Regions from separate parts of the Homo sapiens genome. Here region 2 is linked to region 1. Evidence: promoter capture Hi-C in human tissues and cell types (Jung and others, 2019). All regions are on one chromosome and are shown on one strand. The core of a region is centred on a gene start or on the middle of the fragment in contact, and the rest is flanking DNA. Distances in the headings are between cores, read along the strand shown. Region 1 holds the start of RBFOX1 (RNA binding fox-1 homolog 1). Region 2 overlaps RBFOX1 (RNA binding fox-1 homolog 1).

What was found. Contacts are between HindIII fragments. The study calls those that stand out against the background at their distance.
Region 2: a contact is called between a fragment that was not itself captured here and the fragment with the promoter of RBFOX1 in region 1, in 4 of the 25 tissues and cell types used here (H1 embryonic stem cells, mesendoderm cells, neural progenitor cells and 1 more).

What each region holds. Positions count from the first base shown.
Region 1 is chr16:6,015,798-6,023,032 of GRCh38, reverse strand. It overlaps RBFOX1 (RNA binding fox-1 homolog 1), which reads right to left and starts at 4,009. Exons shown (of 16, transcript NM_018723.4): 1 at 3,041-4,009. RefSeq lists an enhancer at 1-218. The HindIII fragment of the contact is 10,336 bases long and covers 1-7,235 here.
Region 2 is chr16:6,060,527-6,067,206 of GRCh38, reverse strand. The region is part of intron 1 of RBFOX1 (RNA binding fox-1 homolog 1); the gene reads right to left. Among named protein-coding and RNA genes, the nearest start is that of RBFOX1, 45 kb to the right of the region's middle. The HindIII fragment of the contact is 3,700 bases long and covers 1,462-5,161 here.

The DNA of each region.
Region 1 (7,235 bases), core at 2,760-5,259:
AACCTTCTACTCTCTGCTTCTATGAGTTTGACGATTTTAGATCCCCGAATCCCTCATGCAGTAAAGGTAAATAACTCCTTGACATCTCCTATACAATACTATCCTTAAAACAGTCATGTATGATATACTTAGAAATCTTTTCACAGGGTACAGCCCATGTTGTGTTCTTGCCACAACAAAACTAAAATTCTTTCTAAAAACTGGATCAAGGTATTTGTGCATTCAGTTCATTTATGGGCAAATGTGTGCCACAGATGTTTATATGTTTATACAATTAAATACTATCACAAATTGTTTAGATACTATCACAAATTGTTTTTTGTTTGTTTGTTTGTTTTGTTTTGTTTTTGAGGCAGGGTCTCATTCTGGTCACCCAGGCTGGAGTGCAGTGGCGTGATATCGGCTCACTGCAGCCTCAACCTTCTCAGGCTCAGGTGATTCTCCCACTTCAGCCTCCAGGGTAGCTGGGATTACATGTGTGCACCACCACACCCATCTAATTGTTTGTATTTTTAGTACAGACAGGGTTTTGCTAAGTTGTCCAGGCTGGTCTTGAACTCCTGGACTCAAGCAATACGCCCACCTCAGCCTCCCAGAGTGATGGGATTACAGGCATGAGCCACTGCACCTGGCCACAAAATTTTATATCTAAACATACTAATTGCAATGTGTGAATCCCAGGAGGAATGATAAAGCCACTTCTAATATTCTTCGATTCTTGTGTTTTCAAAATATTCTATGTATTAAATAAATGATGTTCTAATTAAAAAAAAAAAAACAGATTTGCTAAGGTAATACTTTCATCCCAGGGGGCCAAGGAGATCAAGTCCTTTCAGTGGGTCAGAAGAAATGTACAACTGCTGCAAAAACTTAATTTCAGGTGCTTGTCAAGACAGCAAGTCAAATGCCACCAACCTATATCTTGGCCAGTGGGTGGGCAGCTTGTCCGTGATCCTCCTTGGAACATGCAGAGAGCAGAATGGGAGAGCTTGAGGCTTCTGTTCCTTACTTAAAAGAAAACGTGTGTGTATAAGGCAAGCCACCTGCCTTTCCTGTACCACTCGGTGCTACAAGGCTCAAAAATTAGAGGAATCTACTTGAAAGAATAAAGAAACAAAACTCATAGAATTCAGGCACTTACCATGTGCCAAACTGTTCTAAATGTTTAGTGCTTTAAGTAATTTACCCCCAAACCCTCTGAGGACAGAACTACGACTGAAACTCTGATTTTACAGGTGACAACCCGAAGCTCAGAGAGGTAAAGCAACTTGCCCAAGGTCACACAGCTGGCAGATAACGGATCCAGAAGCCCTGTGCTCTTCTGAGCCATAAAGCTCCACTCTCTGGACCCCTAAGGTGTCACTTCCACTACCGCGAGGAATGATGACTTTTCTTCCTAACCCGAGGCAACCATAAGCTAACTTAAGGAAAGCCCAGGGGATTCTTCCAAACGGAGGGCCTCCCTGACGAGCTCAAAGAGGACACAGGTTTTGAGTCAGCCCCACTTTTTACCAGCACAGCCACTGCCAGCACCACCTTTACCCTTCACAGGCCCCAGGTCCTTTGCTTCTGAACATAAAAGATCTTAGCTAAAAATAAATCTGCCAGTAGCTCCAGCCGGGGCCTCTGTGGTCACTTAAAAATTGAAAGAATCCAGGCCCTCTCATCTTTTTTTTCTCTCTTTTGTAACAAAGATAAAATGATAAATGGAGGGGAGATGAACTAGGACAGGGGGCAGGGAAGGGATGGCAGGCTGGGGCATGTCCTAAACTTGGGCTGTCAAGGCCAGGCCTCTCTGCACAACGGAGTTTAAAAATAAAAATAAACAATCATTATTCTAATAAAGGAAAACCCAAGTTAGGAGACATGATGTTTCAACTCAACAAAGCTATTTCACCACACTCCCCCACTTCTTTTCAAGTTCAACTGAAAAGATCCGCCTTTGGGGTGCCAATTGCCCGGACTGCCTGACCAGGATTTCCAAGCTCTTCAGTAGCCGCACCCCAGATGTTCCAGTGCCAGCAGGTGCACCCCAGCTCTGGCCCACACAGGAGCGATGAGCTCTCCCAGCCCCCTGACCATTCCCTGGCAGCAAGGAATGGAGCTGGGGGCTCCAGGACAAGGTTAGATCGGGGTCTTCCCCTCCCTTGCTGAGTGGACAGCTTCCGGGCTCCGCGTGACACCTGGTCCCCGCAGCTGGCGCCAGGGAGGCTCCAGGAGCTCACAGCCAAGTGGCCTCCTGGGCGGTGGGGAGATGGGAGCGGCGCCCCACTAGCCCCGCCCTCGCTTCCATAGCTGGACAATTGGTTGATTGGAGCTGACAAGCCCCCCCCTGGCCTGCACAACAACACAGGGCTAAGATCTGCTACCCCTGTGTTTCCTTCTCTGGGGTGAAGGTTCTCTAAGGCTCCCAGGAACCAGGGGCACAGTAGGAGTTTCCCATTCGCAGGTTTCCCGGCTGGCCCCCTCCCCTGGGGTCGAGGTGGCACCGCGGGGCATCGATTCCAGTGCCAGTAAACACAGCGGCGCTTTCTCCACATAAGTGAGCCTTCTCTTCCCCTCCTCCCACAAGGGGTTCGGGGCACCTAAACACCCTCCCGGGTCACTAAGATGCCTCCTCCTGCACACCCTGCGGGCGGAGGCAGCGGTCCGGGGGCGCGCTGAGTGCACGCTTGCAGCCGGCCAGGGAGACTAATCAAAGTGCGCAGGCAGGCTCCCGCTGCTCCTGGCACCTAGGACTCGCTCCCAGGAGGACGGACGAGGTAGCCTGGATGCTTCGGAGGGGCGCTCTGGGGCAAGGAAGGACGTGCTTCTGGAAGCGACGCACAAGGGGGCTCAGGGTCTCGGCCTCCTGGGGGTAGGGGGGGACACGCCTCGAGATCTTTCCACACACCCTGAAAAAGTTCCCGTCCAGAGCGCCCAGACTGGCGCTAGGAGGAGGCCAGTTCTCGGGGACCTAGCGCTTCCCTCCATGAGACCTTCTGGACCTGACCCACCAGGTCAGGGTGGGTGCAGAGGCAATGACTCCGCCTGGACTTACCTAGAACTCCCGGCGAGCCCGGCTGCGGTCACGTTCTCGGCCCCAGACCCCCGAATTCCCGTGCGCTCTCTGCACCCCCAGCCACACTCACCATAAGCTGGAGGCGGCGGAAGGGGGTGCTGGTTTCTCACGCACTGTCCGCAACTTCGCGGGCAGGTCAGCCCCGCCCTGGCGCGCCTGCCTGGGCGCGGCGAGGGTCCGGACAGGCGGGGACCCTGGCGGCCACTGGGTGGGGGTCTGGAGCGCAAGGACTCTCAATCCCGGGCGCGCGGTCCGCTCCTGCTCTCTCTGCCTGGGCAAGAAGCTCGGAGTTCTCCTGCTCCGGACGCCGGGGCGGGGCCCACGGCTGGCTGTCCCCTCCAGATGTGGGGTGCTCGGCTCGGCTCACTCCTTCCTTCTTCAGCCCCGGAGGCGCGCGCGTGGGTCCAGCCAGTGCCGCCGCCTCTGCTGTTCCCGGGGCTGGCAGAGCGCCCCCGCCCCACCGCGGGTGCTGCTGGGGGGCTGGGGCGGAGGGGGAGGGATTCCCCTCCGCGAGTTCGGGTTTCCCCACCCGACGCGGCCCCTGGGCTCCGTCCGCCGTCCGCCACCCTCCGCGCTGCTTGGAGAACCACTTCAGGGCAGCGCAGCCAGTCCCACCGACTCTGGCTGGAGGAGGCGGCGGCAGCGCGGCTCGCACGGGGACTGGAAAGGAGGTGACCTTCAAACCCCGCGCTCGGGAGACCAGGAAGGGGGCTGGGGTGATCGAGGGAGCGGTGTGTGCACCCAGACGGCCAGCAAGAGCGCTTGTAGGAGGGCGGGAGAGAATAAAGAGGAAATCTTCCAGTAAAAATATAGATTAGAAAATAAACAAAGGAGAGCCGGAGAGAGCGCGAGAAAATGTGTGCATGTGTGTGTGTGCGTGTGTGTCTGTGTGTGTGTGAGCGCGCGACAAGCAGCGAGCAGCCCCGGCTGCGGAGCCAAAAATAATCTGGTGCGCGAGGGAGCGCCCCCTCCCCCTTCCCCTCGCCAGCGCCGCCGCCGCCGCGGTCACGCGTGCAGCCCTGGATTCCAGCGGGCGGCGGCGGCGGACACGCGACCCGGTACCCTGGTCTCCTGGCCTAAAGGGGACAGAGGGTGAAAGTTGGATGCTGGGGCAATGAGCCCAGGACTTTCACCTGCGCCCGTCCTCGTCCTGGTAGTCCCCAGGTGGGCTCACTCATTGAGCACCAGCGCCCTCCTCCCAACCCCAATCAAAGTAGACAAATCCCCCACTAGAGACGCCAAGTGGAGGCAGCTTCTTGCCCCAGTCCATTTCTTCTCTGAGGAAGTTTTCTGGCAAGTCTTCAAATCTTCCGGCCAGGCAGAGATCGAGCCCTATCCAAGATTCAAAAAGTTCTCCAGGCTGGATGGGATGCAGGGCTGGGGTGGGTGCGGCTGGCCTGGGACGCCCCCACCCCGCACAGCTGGGCCTCTCCTGTCCTGCCCCCTTCCTGGCCACCTACTCCCGCAATGGACGCTGAAGGGGTCTAGGGATTGTCCTCCTAGCAGATGTCTTACAGCCAGAAGCCCCATGACGCCTTAATACACACTAGCACTTAATAAGCATTTACTTTCCACCAGATGCTGTTTTAAGCACTTTACATGGAGTCTTTTCAACAACTGGAAGTAGATACTGGAGGTTTATCCATTTCACAGATGCTTAGAGAGATTAAAGCAATATTTCTCCCTTCCTGGGTCCCACTCTGGACTGGAGTGAGAAACTCTGCTCTTCCCCTACCTTTTCCTTTCCCTCCCTCCCTTCCTTCCTCCCTCCCTTTCTTCCTTCCTCCTTTCCTCCCTTCCTTCCTTTCTCCCTTCCTCTTTTTTCCACAAATATTCCAGGGGGTTTTGTTGTACAATAAAGTCAGTCTGAGGTTCAGTGAGTTGTAATTTGTTCAAGGTCACATAGCTGGCAAGGAACCAGGACTCCCCAGGCAGTCTACCTCATTTTATGTGGCACCACCCTGCCTTCTGAAGGGCAGGTGGCATTGGACAAGGCCAGATTCCAGCCTTGAGCACTTGATCTGAGGCGCCTGTTCATTTTCCCATCCTGTGATGTGACTGTGTTTGCACTTATACCATGGATCCTCTTATAAGAAATGCTGTAAGCTTTCCAAAACAGGGGGCCATGTGATGTGCATTCCTTTGTACTAGATGTACGTGTATTTCCTAGCGCCCATCAAGGAGCAGATTCCTTAAGGGTTCCTCTTGCAATCCTATCGGGCTGCGGTTTCTTTCAACCTCAGAATAAAAGAAAGGGAACTTCTGCCTATAACTATATTACTTTTTAAAGCACGCAATATTTAATCATCATTTGAAAAAGTAAGTTTGCAAAATCCAGAAAGATATCTTTATCATTGGTCCCAGCGATTTTGCAATTTGGGTTGATTTTTACCATATGTTTCCTTAGGATTCTCTTTGATAATAATATATTTGTATGTAAGCAATTTTTTTTTCTTTATACTAGTCTCATCCTTCAGTGATAGCAAAATGAAACCATAAATCTGGGTTGGTAACATCATAATCATTTCCCCCAGAAACTGTTCACAATGGGAAAACCGCCGAATTTAAATGTAATTGTCTAGCCATGCAGGGAGATGAGATGGGTTGTAAAAGAGGTATTCTCAATTTAAAAGCAAATTATCAATAATGATAGAAGAAATAAATGGCAGTTAACGGGAAATTCTGTTGGAATATACTGTTTTGTGCAAATTCACCAACAGGAATTGTTTGTCTATTCTCCTTCATTTTTTATTCCAGAAAGGAACAAATGAATGCAATCATTCAAGGCAGTAACATCAGCTGTTGTTACATTAAAATGGGTAATTGCTGGGCCCTTTGATTATTTTTAATACATATATATATTTACCATTGGAAATAAAACATATTCATCTATCTGAAAATCAAGTTCAGCTTGAGTCTGCTCTGATTTATTTATTGTAGAGTAGAAATAGGCTTAGATAGATTAGTGATGAGTGTCAGGCATGACTCACTGGTACCTGTATTGCTACATGGCTTAAGAATATGAGTGTGAGAGGCATCCATTACAATTTAAAACAAAATTAGAGTAAAGATCAATATGGCATGCCATTATGCTATTCATTTGGAAAGTATTAGTTTCTTTCTCACAATGACCTTTCGCATTCCAAGTAGAGTTTTTCCTGTCATTTCTCCATGTTGAGCCACTGGAAGATAAATGAGAGGTGCTGAAGTTGACAGCTCCCAGGACAACCTAGGGCCAAGAATCGCCCTGCTATGGTTAGAAAGAACCTGGAGACTTTGGCTCCTCCTACTGGACATGAAAAATACTTTCCAATTTGTGATCTAAGCAAATGTCAAAAATGGTACCTTTCATAAAGCTGGTTTAAAAAGAACAAGGACTTTGTAGCCTTGTGCTTGGCTGAGAGCTCTCTAAAGTGTAAATTTCATCATCTTACTTTAAAACTTAGGATCTTCCTATAGCTCTTCATTATTCCCCAGGATAAGGTCTAAAGTTGTCCATGTGGTTTACCAGCTCCTGGCTCTTTTTAAGTTCACTCTGTGACCCAGGAGGGCTTTTCTCTTGTTGTATCCAATCTTTTGTATATGTTGTTCCTCCAACCAGGAATACCCTTACATACTCTCTTTTCCTGGATAGCTTCTGTTTAGTTTTTAGATCTCCATTTCAATATCACTTTCTCCCTGCCAATCCCTCAACTCCCTACCCAGCCCCCCATAGGCACAGATAAGGTGTTCTTGCGAACTCCTCTAACACCTCCATTTACCTTTACCCTGTCATTTGTCTCAGCTTACTGTAAATGTTGTTCTCTTCTATTAAACTAAAAGGTCTTTACATCAAAGATTTGTTCCCTGATGCACAGCACCAGCCACATAATAAGCTCAATAAATGATAGGTGAACCTTCCTTCTTTCCTGCAGTAGATTGCTGTCTAAATGGGCTAACCACTTTGGAATGAAATGAGAAGTCAACCTGCTCATCCATTTATGTAGTCCTTTGTTCTTTCAGTCATCAAACATGCATCCTTCTTGAGGCTAGTCCCCCATGTAAACCATTTAGTATATAAACTAGACTCAATTTCTGCACTCGAGAAGCGTACAGTCCAATAGCATATGCAGACACATAAATGAGTGATTGCAACTGTCTTGAAACATTTGGCCAATACGGAGCAGGAGCCTAT
Region 2 (6,680 bases), core at 2,062-4,561, 45 kb before region 1:
AGAATCGAGGACGTAAGGAGTTCTATTTTTAATGTCTTCTTACAGAAGCACCATGAACTTAGCAATGCACAAAATTTATGACACACTCAATCTTATAACATGAGGGAGAGGGACTCGGCAGTGACTTTTCCATTGCATTTCCCATGAATCTCAGATCACTTGTAAATTGCAGAGCCTGACATTTAAACTGTGCCGTGTTGATAGTTCAGGCACCACCCTTTCTCCCTGCCGCCCTCCCCCGCCCCCTACTCTGGGAGACCAAGGCTGAGGCTTCATTTCATAATACACCATAATGGTGAGTCAACGGTCAAATGCAGCCTGTTAAGTCTAAAGCAATTACCTTCTGCTGCAAATAAAGAAAAGCCCATGTCTCTACCTCTGAGTGGAGGGCAGAATGAGCAGAGAGACTCTGAGAACCATATGGCCAGCTTCAGCTTGCATCCTTGACATCGTACCCGGCACCTGGGCAAAGGCCAATGCTTGGCACAGTATACCTGCTGCCATTTTTGTCCAAACACTCATCTATTTCGGGAGACTTCCACCTGCCCTTTCTGCTCAGCTATCCTGAGAATCCAAATTCTGGCATAATGAGTTCCTGCTGTCAAAAATCGTAAGTTCTATGTACATTTTTCCAGATAATGTATTTAAATGGCATCCATGCTCAACCGTGGACTACTGTTGAAAAATACTGCATAACCACCTTACTGCATGTATTCCCATTTCTCAGCTGCATCTAACTTAGCAGCACTGTATCTGAACAAAGGGTTTTTCCCTTCTGATGTCTACATTTTCAATAATAGCTGATGCTCTGCAGTCTTAGAAATTGGATTTTTTTTTAATTAGTGCTTTCTATTTACCCTCTCAACTGCCACGTCTGAATTATGCCTTTTTTTTTTTTTTTTTTTTTTTTTTTGAGACAGAGTCTTGCTCTGTAGTCAGGCTGGAGTGCAGTGGCACAATCTTGGATCACTGCAACCTCCAACCCCCCCAGTTCAAGCAATTCTCCTGCCACAGCCTCCCAAGTAGCTGGGACTACAGGCACATGCCACCACACCCAGCTAATTTTTGTGTTTTTAGTAGAGAGGGGGTTTCACCGTGTTGGCCAGCAGGGTCTCAATCTCCTAACCTCATGATCCACCCTCCTCGGCCTCCCAAAGTGCTGGGATTACAGGCATGAGCAATTATACCTCTTAATACTACCATTAAAGTGTTGAAGTCGGAAATATATCTCAAGATCTCATGCTTAGCGCACTTTCCAAATTATCAAGACTAGGAATCCTTCTGTTGACACTGGCAGGCAATCACTTCATATGAGGACAACCCTAGTCCTCGGAGGCAAAATCCAGACCCCAAGGACTACTGAGGCTTTAAGTGATTTTAGCTAAGTGAGCCTCTGTTTTCTCATCTATAAAATGGGGATATTCATCCCATGAGGCTGTTATAAGCATTACATGAGATGATACAGAGACACTGTCTGGAACTTAGTAGGTCTACAGAGGAAGGGGCAGAATTCAAAGCCAGGTCTTCTAACCACATTATATCACATCTCAAAGACGAGGAGAAATGAAACTTTGGAGGTTCGTGAAATCCAGTTTGAAGGATGAAGATTTGTTTCTGTATCTGCTAAGAAACCCCCAGTGATTTCTGAGCAGGTTACGGGCATGTCAAAGTAATTAATTAGGAATGAAACAGACAGAGGACTGAGTGGAAACCGCAATGATATATCAGAGGCTTTGAAATGATCTATGACCATGAAGAAAGCCAGCAAGAAAAGCAAACCACCTAAGAACACACAATAGCACTGAAACTGTGACCACCAGCTGTATGAAAACAGACATCCCCAGTGTTCCTAGGCATCCATAAGAATCATAGGGCCGCGTGCGGTGGTTCACACCTGTAATCCCAGCACTTTGGGAGGCCAAGATGGGAGGATTGCTTGAGACCAGGAGTTTGAGACCAGCCGTGGCAACACAGCAAGATCCTGTCTCTACAGAAAAAAAAAAAAAAAAAAATTAGCCGGTGATGGTGGCACACACCTGTAGTCTCAGCCACTCTGGGGGATGAGGTGGGAGGATCACTTGAGCCCGGGAGGTCAAGGCTGCAGTAAGCCAGGATCACACCATTATACTCTAGCCTGGGTGACAGAACAAGACCCTGTCTCAAGAAAAAGAAAAAAAAAGAAAGAAAGAAAGAAAAGAAATATATAGAAAAACAGTCACGTAGGGAGGTTTTTTTTTTAATTTTTAATTACAGATACTGGGTCTTACTCAAGACCTGTTGATTCGGATTCTCCATGTCTTGAGATCTGAAATGTTTCTACATCCAAGTTAGTGTGTGTGTGCAATTCAAATACAATGTCAGGTTTGGAAATCATTGATGGAGGGGCAAGATCCAGGGGCATATTATTCAAAAGCATACACACAAAAGACCTTCTGAAAATTGTGTGTATACATCCTGGCTAATATGGTGAAACCCCGTCTCTACTAAAGATACAAAAAATTAGCTGGGTGTGGTGGCATGCACCTGTAGTCTCAGCTACTTGGGAGGCTGAGGCAGGAGAATCACTGGAACCCGGGAGGCGGAGGTTGCAGTGAGCCGAGATCGCACCACTGCACTCCAGCCTGGTGACAGAGCGACACTCCGTCTAAAAAAATAATAATAATAAAAAAAAGAAAATTGTATGTATTCTGCCTATGTGAAAAGAAAATGTGGGAATGGATTTGCTTACTACATTGCCCACTTGGAGTACTACTTAATCAAGTATCCCCCCAAAGATAAATTTAATGAAATTATTCACAAATTCTAAGTAATTTTGTGGAGGTAGGAAGGATGTTATAGAAAACTACAAGCAGACATTTTGCACTCATGCTTGCATTTGGAATGCTCCAGATGTCTTCATTTAGAGAGATCCACTGTAGCTAAAATTATATTCATGGAGGACAGTTATAGATATGGAATAAACCTAGGGCTTCAGATTTTTAAAGAACGTATAGGTCATCTCTTTCAACCCCTTTCATAATGCAAGAATAGGCTCTATAATATCCTAGACAGATGATCATGTAGCTGAAATACCTTCAGTAGTAAGGAGCTTGTTATTAATTGGTAGTACTGACCAAAAGGGGAATGTATCATACTCGCATACAATATGTACAATATATAGGGAAATGCACCAAGATATGTAATATAAAATAATACATTAGAGGGTTAGAGGTTATAGGAATTGTAAAGATATAATCATGTGGTTAAATATGCTTGGAAATATTATATGTGTTATGCTTACAGAAATAAAAGGTAATAAATTAATGAATTCTGGAGAGAGAAATCTTGGCCAGTAAAGGATATAAAGACAGACAACTTAAGGACAAGGAGGCTGTCAAGCATCTACATCCCAGTGACCACCTAATGGAATGAATCAAAGACACAGTTGGAGTCCACCCAAGAGGGAACAAGACATCAGCTAAGGAGGGAATGTGCACTCTGTGCTCCTGGTTGCCCTGGTGACAGGACCCCACTTCTCATGCTAATGGCATTATAATGAATACAACCGCCTGAAAATAAAATAAATGGTAAGCTTGATAATAGAGTAAACGATCGTCTTGAGAGCTGCAGTGTGGAGAGGACCCAGGATGTAGTTTTGGTGGTGGGTGTTAACAGAACAATATGATCAGTGAGGAAGGTACTAGGGGAAAAATATAAGGGGGTGTGTGTGTGTGTGTGTGTGTGTGTGTGTGTGTGTGTGTGTCGGAGAAAGAGAACAGACGCTAATGATGGATAATGCTTGAGACAAGTAATATGTCTGCCATTTCTCTTCCTGATATGCTCCACACTGGAAAACCTAAATTAAGTGTTAATGAACCCATATTGATTTCCCTGTTCCCCTCATCATGAGGAAGGTAGCCTGGCCTGGGAGACTCAATTGAAACTCAATGTCTTAGCAAGTTGGCATATCATGTGGTGATCATGGCAGCCTCTGCCTTGATAGTTTTCTTTCCCTCTTGCTGCTCCAAAGTGATCAAGCTCATCAAGATGATAAAGGATGCTGGGATGGTCAGCGTATGTGTTAACTAGTCTAGGTGGTGGTGTCCCGTTGTTTGCTCAAACATTCATCTACGTGTTTCTGTGAAAGTATTTTACAGATGTGAATGACATCTATCATCACAGCTGACTGTATGTCAGGGAGATTACCTTGAAAAATATGGGTGGGCTTCACTGAATCCATTGAAGTTCTTCAGGGCAAAGATGGGTTTTCTGGAGAAGGAATTGTGCCTTAAGACTGTAACACAGAAATTCTGCCTGAGTTTCCAGCCAGCTGGCCTACAGATTTCAGACTCAAGACTACAACATCAACTCTCATCTGAATTTCCAGCCTGCTAATCTGCCCTACAAATTTCATATTTGCCGCCCCTAGAAGCACATGAGACAATTCCTAAGAGTAAATATCTCCACACAGTGATAGTCAAAGAGATACATGTCTTGAGATAGTGATATAAATGTAACTATATATGCATAGATACATATATACATATATAGATATATATCTATGTATAGATACATATAGATATGTATATATGTATATGTTATATATATTTATATATTATGTAACATATATACATATATACAATCTCTATAGATATATATGTTATATATACATATATAGATACAAATATATAATTTGATATTGTGATTTATAAGAAATATGTATGTGGTTGCTGAACCTGGTTCTTGGAGCACAGCTTCTAAAACCATTGGGATCTCCAAAGTGATAAGGGTATCTTTTGTATGTTAATGAGATGACTGATGGCTGGGACCCTTGGATAGCCTCAGGATGGGGGATGGTTGCCAGGGGGACCTACCTTCTAGTTAGAGGGTAGGAATTTTCTGTCCTACCTCTTGACCTCTTGAGAGGGCAGGGGGGCTAAAGATGGAGTTGATCACCAATGGCCAATGATGGAATCAATCAAACCTATTTAATGAAGCCTCCATAAAAACCTGAAAGGACAGTTCAGAGAGCTTCTTAACTAGTGGGGCTACCTAGAAGGTGATGCACCCAGAGACGGCAAGGAAGCTCTGCACGCCTATCCACATGCTCAGCCCCATGCATCTCGTTTGGCTGTTCATCTCTATCCATTGTAATATCCTTTATAATAAACCAGTAAACGCACGTCAGTGTTTTCCTGAGTTCTATAAGCCACTCGATCAACTTAAACCCAGGGAAGGGACATGGGAATCCTAACCAGTCCTTCAGAAGCACAGGTCACAACCTGAGGCTTCCAACTGGAGTCCAAAGTGGGGGCAGTCTTGGCGGCAGAATCCTTAATCTGTGGGATCTGATGCTATCTCCAGGTAGATAATGTCAGAATGGCACTGAATTATAGGACACCCCATTGGTATCTGCTGGAGAACTGGTTGTTGATGGGGAAAACCCTGCACATCTGGTCACAGAAGTATTCTGTGCTATATGAGTGTGAGTGTAAAGTGAAAACACTGTTTTTTTCTATGTATGATAGTATATCTTAAATCTATGTACATAGATTTATCCATAGAGATTTATTTATATTGTTAAGAATAAATTTCTGAAAATAATTTTCATTTTCTATACTTAATTTTATTATAGTAAATATAGCACATATACTATAGTGTATAGTATAATCATATAATTTAATAATTACATTATATATTTTCAGATATTTGTAACAATATACTATATTACCATTATATGTTATACAATGAAAATAGATGTATACATATATGATGACTATACATATACAATATAGATATATAACAAAACATTATATAGACATATAATGAAAATTATCTATTTTCAGATATTTATTCTTTGAGACTTGAAATCTGACCACTTGTCGCTTACACCCATTGGTTGTAGTTGTGTCTTCTGAAGTGATGAACATGCTTATTATAGCTTAGTTATTTGGGCATATATGTTTGGTAACTTCGCACACTACTTTCTAGATCTATTAATCAATTGCTATAGTGGGTCCCTGTCCTTCTCATAGAATCCACCCCTGTATCTGCTGCCGGGTGGGTTAGCAACCATGACCCTCCTCTGGTCCAGCAGATTGGACTAGGGGTGACTTCTGAAAAGACCTGGGCCAATCAGGTTCTGTTGTCAGTAAGTGTAAATGAATGCATGGGTCGTAATCAGTGTGGTGGGCAGGGCTGGACCAACCAGGTTCTGTCCTCAGTAACTGTAAATGAATGCATGGATTGTAATCACTGCAGTAGGCAGGGCTGGGTTCAGGGCAGCCCCGTGTGTCCATGTGCCATATGTGGGAAAGAAATCTACAGAGAGAAAAGGAAGGTAATGGCACAGACAGAAGGAGACACCAACCCCAGGCAGCCCTGGAAAAACAGTGTAATCTCTGCTCCTGTAGATGTTCCCTTCCTGGTTTCAGTTCTTCTGGGGTAACTGTGTGAACTTCCTCCTCTTGGGTTCTATGACTGAACTCTCTGCCCCTGAATCCTGGGAAACAGCTCTGAGTCCTTCTAGGATATTTTGTTGTCTTAAGGTAGTACGAGTGGTTTGAAGTTACTTGCAGCCAAAGGATTCTGTGTTGCTTAGCAACACATGCATGTGGAGAACTCCTGTTTACAACACCATAGGCAAAGCATGAAGCAAGCATCAAAGTATATGGAACTGCTGACGTAGAGGTCGAACCTGA